Linked DNA regions of Homo sapiens: all the other regions are linked to region 1. Evidence: promoter capture Hi-C in 16 types of primary human blood cells and fetal thymus (Javierre and others, 2016). All regions are on one chromosome and are shown on one strand. The core of a region is centred on a gene start or on the middle of the fragment in contact, and the rest is flanking DNA. Distances in the headings are between cores, read along the strand shown.

The links. Contacts are between HindIII fragments. The CHiCAGO score rates a contact against its expected background, and 5 or more counts as called.
Region 2: a contact is called between a fragment that was not itself captured here and the fragment with the promoter of KRT32 in region 1, in 1 of 17 cell types (M0 macrophages). The highest score is 6.7, in M0 macrophages.
Region 3: a fragment that was not itself captured here is called in contact with the fragment with the promoter of KRT32 in region 1 in 3 of 17 cell types (neutrophils, endothelial precursors and total B cells); the score reaches 7.3 in neutrophils.
Region 4: a fragment that was not itself captured here is called in contact with the fragment with the promoter of KRT32 in region 1 in 9 of 17 cell types (naive CD4 T cells, naive CD8 T cells, total B cells and 6 more); the score reaches 10.3 in naive CD4 T cells.

What each region holds. Positions count from the first base shown.
Region 1 is chr17:41,466,025-41,469,562 of GRCh38, reverse strand. It overlaps KRT32 (keratin 32), which reads left to right and starts at 2,177. Exons shown (of 7, transcript NM_002278.3): 1 at 2,177-2,705; 2 at 3,387-3,469. The coding sequence starts at 2,238. It also overlaps the pseudogene RNU2-32P. The HindIII fragment of the contact is 3,316 bases long and covers 1-3,183 here.
Region 2 is chr17:40,813,296-40,816,833 of GRCh38, reverse strand. It overlaps LOC105371776 (a long non-coding RNA gene), which reads right to left. Exons shown (of 4, transcript XR_934753.2): 4 at 2,706-2,886. Among named protein-coding and RNA genes, the nearest start is that of KRT10-AS1, 4.1 kb to the left of the region's middle. The HindIII fragment of the contact is 213 bases long and covers 1,144-1,356 here.
Region 3 is chr17:40,902,666-40,906,203 of GRCh38, reverse strand. The region is part of intron 1 of LOC105371777 (a long non-coding RNA gene); the gene reads right to left. Among named protein-coding and RNA genes, the nearest start is that of KRT20, 19 kb to the right of the region's middle. The HindIII fragment of the contact is 4,098 bases long and covers 1-3,538 here.
Region 4 is chr17:40,948,848-40,952,385 of GRCh38, reverse strand. The region is part of intron 1 of LOC107985072 (a long non-coding RNA gene); the gene reads right to left. Among named protein-coding and RNA genes, the nearest start is that of KRT23, 13 kb to the right of the region's middle. The HindIII fragment of the contact is 4,385 bases long and covers 1-3,538 here.

The DNA of each region.
Region 1 (3,538 bases), core at 928-3,427:
TTTTTTCATATGTTTCTTGGCCACATAAATGTCTTCTTTTGAGAAGTGCCTGTTCATATCCTTTGCCCACTTTTTGATGGGGTTGTTTGTTATTTTCTTGTAAATTTGTTTAAGCTCCTTGTAGATTCTGGATATTAGACCTTTGTCAGATGGGTAGATTGCAAAAATTTTCTCCAATTCTATAGGTTGCCTGCTGACTCTGATAACAGTTTCTTTTGCTGTGCAGAAGCTCTTTAGTTGAATTAGATCCCATTTGTCAACTTTGGCTTTTGTTGCAATTGCTTTTGCTGTTTTAGTCATGAAGTCTTTGCCCATGCCTATGTCCTGAATGGTATTGCCTAGACTTTCTTCTAGGGTGAAAACTCACATTTCTAACATGTTCCTGAGTCAGGTTGATGCTGAGAGTGACTGATAACACCTTATTATAATAATTATAGTTTTTGGGTGAGAGGATTAAATGGGCAAATTAATGCCAAGCACTCAGCACCATGCCTGGTATTTGTATACATTCCACAAGTGCTGGCTATGATTCTGAAGGGTGGCCTGATGAGTCTCATCCCTTGTAGTTGGTATTGCCATCACACCTCCTTCCATCTGATGCTATAATCTTCTCTAAATAGGTAATCCAGACAAGGTACTGGAATTTGTAGTTGTTGCAGAGAATCAAATTGTGAGAGTATTTGATCTGACCCCCTCGATTGGCATGAAGAAACTGAGGTCTGGAGAGACAAAATTACTTTCCCAAGGCCAAATGGCAAGTCAGAGGCAGTATATCTACGCTCTCCTTTTCTTATGCAATGAATGAGCTGGGTGGCATTTTCCCTTTCCTGTTCTTGTACTGACATTTCTGGGAATATGTGAAACATAAGGCAAGTACTTATACCCCAAAATTATATCAAGAAGATTACTGAATAAAAAAGTGGCTATATAGCACACACATACTAAATGTGAAGCTCACAGCTTTTGCAGCCAGGACTGAAAACCACTGCTCTAGCATGTTGCCTTCTTAAGTGAATGCCCAGGGCTTCTATAGTTGGGCAAATATGCTCCCTGTCTCCTGGCTTAGCTCATTCCAGGGCTATAGAACATCCTTTCCCAAGGGAGTGGATTCACACTGCTTCCATAGTCTGAGATCCTGAAGTGAGCCTTCCCCATCTGCCACAACAGAAAGTAAAAGTAGAACCTGTTCCAACTATTCTCAGTCTGTTCAACAAACAATTATTGAGCACTTGACAATTGTGTATATGGTGCAGTGATAATTGAATGGATGGTCCAGAGGGGGTCAAGACAGAGCAGCTGCCACCTGGAGATGTTCATGATATGGACTTTTCCAAGAGGAAGAGACCAACTGGAAAGATGTACCTGATTCTTAGGCTTCTGTTTGGGTCTTTTTTTTTTTTTTTTTTTTGCCTTTTGAAGGGGTGCAGCATTCCTGGAGGTACTGCAATACCAGGTCAACATGTAGAGTGAACAGAGCAAGCTCTTATTCCATCTCCCTGCTCCCAAAATCCATTTAATATGTTGTCCTCAGATGGAGGACGTATCAGATATTAAGACGATAAGAACAGATACCACACTTGATCTTAGCCAAAAGGCTGAGAAGTGATGCTGCCTATGTCTTGAGTTCATTCTCTCCCCACTGATATTATTTTCTTCCCCTTGGCAGGAAGATGATGTCTGTTAGGAAGCCTCTGAGGTTCCTGTTCCTTTCTGCTGGATTTATGCCGCTGCCAGCATCGGAGCAGTTTCTACCACCCACACATTTCCTTGTTAAATAGCCAGGCCTCTTCCCATGGGGAATGCTTTCATTAAAAGAGGCAGCCACTGCTGCACAGACCTGCAGGCTTCTCAGGGCTAGAGCAGGCGGGGGTGCAGTGGGCAAAGCCAGTGGAGGCACAGGCTGGGTTGTGGCAGTCTCCTGGAGGGCCTGCCCTAGTAATGAGGGCCCAGGCATGCGGCTGACCCTTTGAAGATGTGTCCTGAAGCTCTCTCATGGTGATCAATGACAGGAACCCAGACTCCTGCTTTAGCCAAATGATAAGTTTGGCCTCTTTTATTGGAAACCAAATTACAAATTAATTAGCAGCTTCCTCTGGGGCTGGGTGTGAACATCAACACCACCCAATGATGAATTTCTATCATGAGCCCCCTCACTGCAAGGGCATAAAATGGCCCGGGCGGCATGGGGTCTGTAGACATCCAGGTAGCTGTGGCTGAGGAGAAAGGGCCTCTCCAACATGACATCCTCCTGCTGTGTCACCAACAACTTGCAAGCCTCTCTCAAGAGCTGCCCCCGGCCTGCCTCGGTCTGTTCCAGCGGCGTGAACTGCCGGCCTGAGCTGTGCCTGGGCTATGTCTGCCAGCCCATGGCATGCCTGCCTTCGGTCTGCCTGCCCACCACCTTCCGGCCAGCCAGCTGCCTCTCCAAAACCTATCTATCCAGTTCCTGCCAGGCAGCCAGTGGCATCTCCGGCTCCATGGGCCCCGGCAGCTGGTACAGCGAAGGGGCCTTCAATGGCAATGAGAAGGAAACCATGCAGTTCCTTAACGACCGCCTGGCCAGCTACCTGACGAGGGTGCGGCAGCTGGAGCAGGAGAATGCGGAGCTGGAGAGCAGGATCCAAGAGGCCTCTCACTCCCAGGTGCTCACCATGACTCCTGACTACCAGTCTCATTTCAGGACCATTGAGGAGCTCCAGCAGAAGGTGAGGGCAGCGGTGAGGTGAATAGGCTCTCTGGGAAGGGAACTGGACTAGCTGGCATTCCAGATTGGAATCTCGTTAGCTTATTAAGCTATGTTCAGGACAAAGAGACTTCCCTAGGGCATAGGGTTATTTTATAATTTGAGCACTCAGCCTGAGGCTTTCATGTGGAGAGATCTGGGATCTAGTCTCAGTTCTACCATTGCCTCATTGCATGACTTTGGGGGTCCCATCCCTTCCCCAGGCCTCAGTTTTCTCATCTGTAAAACAGGGATAATAATGGTCGTTATCTAATGGGGTTGTCAAAAGGATTTGATGAGATGATGCAGGTCAAGTGCTTGGAACAGCCCCTGGTCCACGGTAAGTTTTCAGTAAATGTCAAAGACCCTTCTAACTGTCACATGAGTGACTTCAGACATGAGATTCTTCCCTTCCACATTGCTTGGCACATCCAAAATGGGGAATTTGAATTTACGAAGCTTCAGGTTCTTAAAAAATACATCTCAAGTTCTCCAAGGACTAGCAATTCGCTAAATATCTCCCAGAGTTCCAGGGAAGAGGACCTTCTGCAGGGATGGCTGCAGGGCTGCTGGATCCTACCTTTGCTGCTGTCTTCTCTTCATTTGGGTTCTTCTTGCTTCGTCTCATCCTGAACTAACCCTCTCCATGTGCCTTGGCCTACAGATTCTGTGTACCAAGGCAGAGAATGCCAGGATGGTTGTGAACATTGATAATGCCAAACTGGCTGCCGATGACTTCAGGGCCAAGTGAGTTCAGTCGGGGGGCTGGAGCTGGGGAGGACCTGTCCTCATAGGCTCTGGGGCAACTTTCCATTA
Region 2 (3,538 bases), core at 1-2,500, 650 kb after region 1:
ATTCAATACCACTGATACGAGGCAAGTACACATATGTTACTATGAGATAGCAGTGCTTGCTGTTAAGTTTGTCTCTTCTACCCATTCTGCCCTCCTCCCCCAGGCCACAATCTTAGCAGTCAGAGTCCTCTATGTGGTTGGATGGTGACCCAAACTTTCATTCCTGAAAAGTCTGCATACATCGTGGTCCTGTCTTCTTACCATTTCAATCTTGCAATACCTCCTTAAACAATTATTTATATTCTCTCTGATAAAGTAAATACTTTATCTCAGATAAACAGCTGCTTTCTTGATTGGACTTGGATAACTATGGTTTGTTTTTGCTTTTTTTTTTTTTTTTTTAATGAGACAAAGTCTCACTGTGTTGCCCATGCTAGTCTTGAACTGGGCTCAAGCAATCCTCCCACCTCAGTCTCTGAGTAGCTGGGATTATAGGCACATGCCGCAGTGCCCAACACTATGGTTTAATAAAGATAATCTGTCTAAATAAGCCACTTGTCTTTAATAAGGACATTGGTATTTATAGTAAAAAAAATTACAGAATTATTTTTAAAAATTATTAAATAGCACAGGGCACTATTTTTACCAAATAAATTTGCATGTACCTATTAATCAAAAAATTCTGTATGCATTCTTACAGATTCTAAAGTCATTACAGAATCCTGCTATTTAAGCAGGGTAGTGCCTAATTAGATTGGCAGAGCCAATTCGGCACCCATGTCAAAAAATATTACACGATAAAATCCTGTTTCCCCAAAGATGTTCTCTTATGATGCTAAAGGCCTAAAAGCTTTGCACCCTAATCTTGGTGCCCATGATGGCTTGATATTTTGCTTGGGAGTGAAGAAATAGCTTTGTTAGGGTCATCTTTATCAGGGAAGTAACTCGATTAAGGTTAAATAGGATGCATCTAATATTTCTCATCTATATTGCATTTTGAGAATGGGAATTAGGGAAAGAGCTTATTCATGGTTTATGAGCATGCAACTGAAACACAGTGATCCCTGGACTTCCTATCCTGGCACTGGCATTTACAAATTATGTACCTTTGGACAAGTTACTTCAACCCTTCTGAGTCTGTTTACTTACCTATACAATAAGGGATAGCTACCTTATATGAGGTAGTTGTGGTTAAACTAAGCTTGACAATGAAAATAATGATAATAATAGCCTTTAAATCACACCGGGCATTGTTCTGAGTAAATGATGGATGGATAGATAGGTAGGTAGGTGGGTAAATGTGTGGATGGATAGATAGATAGATTAGATAGATAGATAGATAGATAGATAGATAGATAGATACAGATAGGTAGGTAGACTCAGTACATATAACATGTATATGAACTCATTTAAGCTTAGCTACTACCCTACAGTTTATTTTCAACACAGAACCATAGTTATCCTTTTAAAATGTAAGTCTAATATATTAGATCAAATTGTAAGTCTAATTATATTTGATCAAAATTCTTTGATGTCTCTCCATTTCTCTTTTGATGTTACCTTGGTTAATATTCTTTAACAAGATGGTCTTCCTTACCTCCTTCAAGCCTTTGCACAGTTGTCACTTTTTCTTTGAGACCCACTCTGATTTTCCGCTTAAAATTTTACCTGCCAATCTCCCAACTCCCCTATCTGCTCCACTTTTTTTATTATTATTATACTTTAAGTTCTAGGGTACATGTGCAGAATGTGCAGGTTTGTTACGTAGTTATACGTGTGCCATGTTGGTTGGCTGCGCCCATTAACTCGTCATTTACATTAGGTATTTCCCCTAATTCTATCCCTCCCCCAGCCCTCTACCCCACAACAGGTGTGTGATGTTCCCCACCCTGTGTCCATGTGTTCTCATTGTTCAACTCCCACCTATGAGTGAGAACATGTGGTATTTGGTTTTATGTCCTCGTGATAGTTTGCTCAGAATGATGGTTTCCAGCTTCATCCATATCCCTGAAAAGGACATGAACTCATCCTTTTTTATGGCTGCATAGTATTCCCTGGTGTATATGTGCCACAGTTTCTTAATCCAGTCTATCATTGCTGGACATTTAGGTTGGTTCCAAGACTTTGCTATTGTGAATAGTGCCACAATAAACATACGTGTGCATATGTCTTTATAGTAGCATCATTTATAATCCTTTGGATGTATACCCAGTAAAGGGATCGCTGGGTCAAATGGTATTTCTAGTTCTAGATCCTTGAGGAATTGCCACACTGTCTTCCACAATGGTTGAACTAATTTACACTCCCACCAACAGTGTAAAAGCGTTCCTATTTCTCCACATCCTCTCCAGCATTTGTTGTTTCCTGACTTTTTAATGACCGCCATTCTAACTGGTGTGAGATGGTATCTCATTGTGGTTTTGATTTGCATTTCTCTGATGACCAGTGATGTTGAGCATTTTTTCATATGTCTGTTGGCTGCATAAACGTCTTCTTTTGAGAAGTCTGTTCATTTCCTTTGTCCACTTTTTGATGGGGTTGTTTTTTTCTTGTAAATTTGTTTAAGTTCTTTGTAGATTCTGGATATTAGCCCTTTGTCAGATGGGTAGATTGCAAAAATTTTCTCCCTTTCTGTAGGTTGCCTGTTCACCATGATGATAGTTTCTTTTGCTGTGCAGAAGCTCTTTAGTTTAATTAGATCCCATTTGTCAATTTTGGCTTTTGTTGCCATTGCTTTTGGTTTTTCAGTCATGAAGTCTTTGCCCATGCCTGTGTCCTGAATGGTATTGCCTAGGTTTTCCACTTTTTCTTTTTTTCACAGCACTGTTTCCAACTTACTATACAATGTATTCATTATTAGTCATCCTTTTCCCCTGCTAGACGGTACACTCCAGAAAGACAACGCTTGATCTTCGTCTACTTTATCCATTCATGTATCCTGAGGCACTAGAACAGTGACTAACACAGGTTAGGTACCAAAAATATCGTTTTTGAAGGAATGAACTCTATGACATATATACTATTATTATCTCCATTTTACAGATGAAGAAACTGAAGCACAATTTAATTCATCACTGGAACTAAGAGTGTAGGAAATGATTATATATAAATGGACATTAGTGTATGATAAAGGAAGAATCTAAACCCTAAGAAAGTAAGGTTTATTCAGTAAATGATAAACTATTAAACCCATAACAAACATACTAGAAATAATCCAAATGAGTGTCTTAAACATCCATATAAGTAGTAAAAAAAAAGCAGAAAAAAATGTGTAATCACATTTTTTAAATTTTGAAATAATTATAGACTCGTTGGAAATTGCAAAAATAGTAGAGTCCAGTGTACTCCTGACTCACCTTCCCCAAATAGAGACATCTTCTATAGGCTAGGGTATAATATCTAAAATTTAAAAATTGGCATTGGTACATCACTGTTTAACTACAGAGCTTACTCAGTTTTTGTTTTTCCTAACCTGCATGTGTATTCACAAAATACAAATCTTATAAAGGACTGGCATATAGAATATAAATATAAAAAACTATAACTCAATAACAAGAAAAAACCACAAACCAAAAAAAAATTGTGTGTCTGTGCAATT
Region 3 (3,538 bases), core at 453-2,952, 560 kb after region 1:
ACTAGGTATATACTCAAAGGATTATAAATCATTCTGCTATAAAGACATATGCAGACATATGTTTATTGCAGCACTGTTCACAATAACAAAGACTTGGAACCAACCCAATTGCCCATCAATGATAGACCAGATAAAGAAAATGTGGCACAGATACACAATGGAATACTATGCCGTCATAAAAAAGGATGAGTTCATGTCCTTTGCAGGGACATAGATGATGCTGGAAAGCATCATTCTCAGCAAACTAACACAAGGACAGAAAACCAGACACCGTGTGTTCTCTCTCATAAGTTGGGGTTGAACAGTGAGAACACATGGACACGGGGGGTGGGAGGCGCATCACATACTGGGGACTGTCGGGGCGTGGAGGGCTGTGGGAGGAGAGCATTAGGACAAATATCTAATGTAGATGACAGGCTGATGCGTGCAGCAAACCACCATGGCGCATCAATACCTATGTAACAAACCTGGATGTTCTGCACCTGTACCCCAGAACTTAAAGTATAATATAAAAAATAGAAAGACATTTTTCTATGGAATGTGAAGGCTACTTCAGTACCAAATAACAGTCTCTTGTGATGAGAGCACCATGTCTGCCAGGCGGCATCTGTTGCACAGCACTCTGCTGTGTCTTCCAGCCTCTGCCTCGTTCCCACTTCAGCCGGGCGTTCCTGCTTACATCTGTGGCAAGCTCTCAGCTAGCTTCTCCTCCCAGACTGAGAATCCTCCTAAACTGCACCTCTTGCCATTTACCCTCTAGGGGACAATAGACTTCTTCATCTTGTACCTGGGTGATACCAGGCTCTCAGAATTCCTAGGGATCAGAGGGGTGGGTAGAAGGACAGGTGGATCAGGTAGATGCATGAAGAGAGGCAACGCCAGTTACTCAGACTCTGCCTGGGCTACCAGAGTCCTGAGCTTCTTGCCCCCATTCGGGAGGTGTTAGGGGTCTCACTCCGAATCATTACTAGTTTGTTCTTTAGCTTTTATTTCCATTTCTTCCGTGTGTGTGTGTGTGTGTGTGTGTGTGTGCTGCCACTGATACTACTTTTCCCTCTCAGCGATTAAAAGAAAAAAAGATACATTTGAAAAAGTGGTGTATTATCTATTCTGTTAATATGATGTCAGTATTTATGAGGTGTGGTCTTTGTGCCTCTTTTTAAAGATATAAGGAATTACTCCATCGCCAAAGTTCGGTGGCTTCTCATATCACAGAGTAAAAGGCAGGTTCCTTGCTGGATGATGGCATCCACATCCCTCACCATTCACCTCCGAATTGCTGAGGTCCTTTCCACCACCCTCCCTTCCATCCCTGAGCACCCCCACATCCCCACTGCTCCACCCACACTCACACCTAAACTGCTATAGACCTTTGCACCTGAGCTGCCATATGGCTCTTTTCTTCCTGCTGTCATTCAAATACCACTCTCACAGGGAGGCCCATTCTCATCTCTCTACACACAAGGGCAACTTTCCCAGCCCTCCCCACCCTTCCTTTTTCTCCTCTGACCTACTCCCTTCACCTCTAGCTCCCACCCCTGAATCTAAGTTCCGCCAGGGCAGAAACGTTTGTGTTTTTTTAACTACTGTATCCCCAGCATCTGCAACAAAACCTTGCACACACTGATATTCACACAGACTTGTGAATTCATGAATGAATGCGTGAGTGAATGAATGAATACATCATATACTATACAAGGTTCATAGTAAAAAATAGCAGCCCCTGGTGTCCCCACTCCTGAATGTTTCTCTCTGAAATCTTTTAGCTATTGTTTCTGGTATTAACCTGCATATCTCTAAGGAATATGCTTACACTGCTATTTCTTGTTTTATCAACTTAAGACGTTAAAGACCGGGCACGGTGGCTCACGCCTGTAATCCCAGCACTTTGGGAGGCCGAGGTGGGCGGATCACGAGGTCAGGAGTTGGAGACCATCCTGGCTAACACGGTGAAGCCCCGTCTCTACTAAATATACAAAAAAAAATTAGCCGGGCGAGGTGATGGGCACCTGTAGTCCCAGCTACTCGGGAGGCTGAGGCAGGAGAATGGCGTGAACCCAGGAGGTGGAGCTTGCAGTGAGCCGAGATCACGCCACCGCACTCCAGCCTGGGCGACAGAGCGAGACTCCGTCTCAAAAAAAAAAAAAAAAAAAAAAAGAAGACATTAAAGACCTAAATCCCCATTGTAGAAGATGGCATCACAGGATTCTTACACCATCTCACACCTCCGGTTGCCATTTCTCTACCTTTCCAGTGTGATTACATCACATTGTCTTATAATTTACATATATATTATCTGTATGGGGTTTATATCCCTTTGCTAGAATGAAGCCTTGTCAGCAGGAATTTGTGTTTGTCTTGCTCACGGAAGTATCCTCATGGCCTAGAACAGTGCCAGGCCCTCAGCAGGTACTGAGTAAATATTTGTGGAGTGAATGGATGAATTCTGAGATTTATGGGCTGTGACTTATCCACCAGTTACTCATCGCTGCACTTTAGGGATGCGTGGGCCACCTCCATGTCCCTGTGCTTTTCCAGCTTGGACTCTCCCTCAAACTCTGCACTTTCAGGAAAACTTCAATGACTCCCTCCCACCCAGCTTTACTTGGGGATCCTTCCTCTATATCCACAAATCTTTTCGTGAACATTATATATAATTCCCGATTAGTCACCGTCTCCGGCTAGGCTGCCGCCTCCTCGGAATCATGGACTGTGTCTTGATTTCTGAACCCTATTGGCTATCACAGCATCCCACCTATTGTAATTGATTCTCAAGCAGCTATGAATGAAGGACACACAGTCCCTGCTTGCCACTTGGAGGCAAGAAAGAAACGACATCTTCCTGTTCCTGGTGAGCCCTAGGGTGAGTCACTTCACCATTTACAGAGATAACATGTGGCTCGATTGCTTCTTCTTTCACTCTTCACTTCCCCAGGTTAATAATTGCCAGATCATGTCATACTCTTTATTTTTTCAACCATTTCACTTCTTGCCATCCCTTTCCATGTCCAAATCTCCCTCAGAAATAAAAATAAATTTCAAATTAGTCAGAGCATCGTGACTTCTTTCAAAGTTAGAATTACTGCCTTATGAAACATGTGATTCAATGTGGGGCTCCGCTTGACAAGATCAAGCATTCTAAACTAAAATGTACAACCAGTGGAAATATCTTCCTGCTCCTCGACTACTGATACTTTACAGCCATGGTTCTCCAACTTTACCATGCATCCGAAGCACTGGAAAGACTTGCTAAGATGGAGCCACAGATTGTGGGGTCCCACTCCCAGAGTTTCTGAGCCAGATAATCAGAGTCTGGGAATTTGCACTGCCACAAGCTCCTGGGTGCTGCTGATGCTGCCAGTCTGAAGCCCACACTTTGAGAACCCTCGCTTTCCCATAATGCTTCAAGAAGTCTTAGGCACTAAGTTGATGCACCTGTGAAGGGGTTAGATTTCCCTCCTCCCTTCCCACCACCGCCAAGATAAGTAGTTGCTGAGTGCAACATTACAGCACTTCTTAAACTCTAATAGGCACACAG
Region 4 (3,538 bases), core at 576-3,075, 520 kb after region 1:
AGAGAGGACTGATGGCCCTTCTCCTAGTACAATATCTGTTACCCTTGTCTCTTGTGGCCCTGATGTTTCCTGGAGTCAGGTTATGGTGTCAATGGAGAAAACAGCTGGAAGGCTTCTCCACCGCCAACACATAATAAAAGTAATCACAGATGCACAGAAGCCACAGTGTCTCCTAGGGCCAAAAAGTAGAAAGAGTAATGCTTCTTTCATTCAATTAAAAACTGATTAAATATTATGCCTCTAGACATTGTGCTACATGCTTTACATGAATTATCTCACTCAATTCTCACAATGGCCCTACCATACTATGGTTATTACCACATTACTAACAAGTGAACTAAGGCTTACAGAAGTTAAGTAATTTGCTCAGTGTCACAGCTAGTAAATGTTAAAGTCAAAATCTGAACAAACTCAAATCCTCTATTCCAAATGCCCAATCAATTAAATAATTACTCAAGTTTGAAAATGTCATACATGTAGCCTAATGAAAGCTATAAAGAATTAAAGAAATAATGCTTGTCTTGGAGGTCTAAAGAAGGTGAGCCATATCCCTGGTGGTTCAAGTGGTTAAGAAAATATTTTAAAAAGAGAAAGTGAGCCCTAAAAACACAACACAACAGTGTCCAGCCCAATCCAGGAAGGGGCAACACTGAACTCATGAACACCATCTAAGCACGTGTGGACTTGAGGCAGTTTTTCAACCTCATTCCTCAAGACCCCATATCCCTCTTCTAGTTCCATTTTTGACAAAAGCCTTCATATTACAATTTGGTTTCTCTAATTCTTAGGTACAACAAAGAAGGTGCATTGATTTGCAGTTGGGAACTCTGTGGTTGCAAAATGGATCATCTTTCAATGTTAAATTAATAAGTTTGCATTCTGTCTCTTTCATCTGGCACTTAAAAGTCAGGTTACTCTGAGTCAGCTCCTGAGAATCCCTTTGGTTCTGGTGCACTAATAACCCACCAGCCTAAGAACAGACATAGACCACTGTGACTTCACAAGAAAGTATCACCTTGTGAAGTTCTGCTTTGGAGACCAGATGACCTAACTCAACAGCATCTTCATCTCTTCTCATTCTAACCACAACAATTAGGCTGTTGGATTTGTGTGAAGTTTATTGCTAGAAGATTGGCACAGTATAGCCCTGCTCTACTAGATATAAAGCCAAGAGGTCTTGAATGGAGAAGCATTGGGAAAGTGTAGGTCTCATTTCTAACTAGTTCATATTCATGGCGAGCATAGGCTCAAAACAATGAATGCCGGATATTCATGTTTCCAACAATTTGTGGCTTCATCAGCAATTGTGGGCTGCCAAAGCTGCAGGGGACTTCCTGGTTTTGACCCATCCCAAGAGTAACAGGACACAAGGCTGATAGGATGAAATATCCAAAGTCCACCCCCAGGATTCCATTTTTTTTCTTTTTTTTTTTTTGAGACAGAGTTTTGCTCGTGTTGCCCAGGCTGGAGTGCAATGGCACGATCTCGGCTCACCGCAACCTCCACCTCCTGGGTTCAAGTGATTCTCCTGCCTTGGCCTCCCAAGTAGCTAGGATTACAGGCATGCGCCACCATGCCCAGACAATTGTGGTTTTTTTTTTTTTTTTTAGTAGAGACAGAGTTTCTCCACGTTGGTCAGGCTGGTCTCGAACTCCTGACCTCAGATGATCCACCTGCCTTGGCCTCCCAAAGTGCTGGGATTACAGGTGTGAGCAACCACACCCACTGCCCCCCCCCACCCCCACAGGGTCCCTTTTAAGAAAGGCTACAAATTATAATTAGAGGGATGGTAATCAGAAATGAAATCAAACGTGTTGGGTTCAGAAAAAAACAGAAGATGCTATATTAGTGTATTCAGGAGAGGCACTGGGAGAAATAGACAAAATAAGAAAGAGAAAGGAGCAAAATGGATATGTTTTTGTGGCTGCAGAGTAAGAAGAACCAAGAGGTCATTTGGAGCTCACTTACATGGAACAGAATGTACAGTGGGACTAAGATTGCAGGGACCGTGTCCAGCGTCCCAGTTACAGCACCGTCTCTTTGTAGTAATGACACAAAGACTATGTAGTAAATAATAATTAAGGATGAAAGACGAGCTGTGGACAAAGGGTGAGATCAGGAGGGAAATAGGCTTTGGTTGTAAATAAAAGACACATATTCACATTTGCCCTAATGATGGTTCCCACGTGCCGTGGATCTTCAGGAACAGCCTTCCTTTTATGTAATTTTATGCTTCTCCGTAAAAATTATTTGTAAAATGTTTAATTAAATGTGATTTAAATTCTATAATTTTCTGAGGTATATCATATATATTAATTTGAAAATTTAAAAATCCACCTATAATTTGCCTTTTTAGGGTTTATGAAATATAGTAACTATAACCATCTTTGCTGTTACGCTAATAATTAAAGATCTAGACTAAGTATGTGTATGGAAAATATGTTTTATAAATCACATGGAAAACACATTCTATTCACCTTGATTTAATCTTTGTAGGAGATTGGTCAGAGTGGTGGGAGAAACTATAGGGAAAGGATGCAAACCTTCTGAAAGTTCAGAAGGCTCTGCATAGCTTCAGGGGAGAATAAGCTGAAGGCAGCTGTTCTCTGATCCTGAGGCAGAGGGCAAGGAGTAGGTACAAGGAGGTGTAGGGGAATTTATCGTAAACAGGCTTGTTTACTTAGGTTGTCCAGAAACCGACCTTTGATAATCTGTGCACATGACTGCTCCCTGAAAAGGGGAACAATAATGTTAATTACCCGCAGATTGTGTTTGCTCCAGGCTTTCGGCATTATGTCTGTACTGAATAAAAGCAAGCAGCTTCAGCTGTTCGCAGCTGCTCTCTTCTTTGGCCCTAAGTGCCGGCAGACCCCTAGCTGCTCTTACACTGCACGCCTGTGTTGTCAGTACTCCCTTCATCCGACGCTCGGCCAGGGTCTGCAGGACAGACCTGGCAAATCTTCAGCAAAAATCCATCACCAGAGTTCCTACTGGATGTTTCCCCCACAAACACACAGACACTACGATGTTCTACTGCCACTGTAACAAAGTGACATGCATTTCATGGCTCAAAATAACACAAAACACGAATGTACTATCTTACTGTTCTCTATTTCAGAAATCTGACTTGGGACTCAGTGTACTAAAATCAAAGTGTTGGAGGTCCTGGGGGGGATTTGTTTTATTGCCAAACTTTTCCAGCTTTCAGAGGCTGCTCACATTCCTGGGCTTGTCCACCATTTCCATCTTCACCATCAGCCATCTCGTCACCCTTAACTCTGCCTTCATCACATCTCCTTCGCCAACACTGACTGAATCTTCTACTTCCCTCTTCCACCTTTTTTTTTTTTTTTTTGAGACGGAGTCTTGCTCTGTCACCCAGGCTGGAGTGCAGTGACGCGATCTTGGCTCACTGCAACCTCCACCTCCCAGGTTCAAGCCATTCTCCTGCCTCAGCCTCCGGAGTAGCTGGGATTACAGGTGTGCAGGCATGCAGGCATGCAGGCATGTGCCACCATGCCCAGCTAATTTTTGTGGG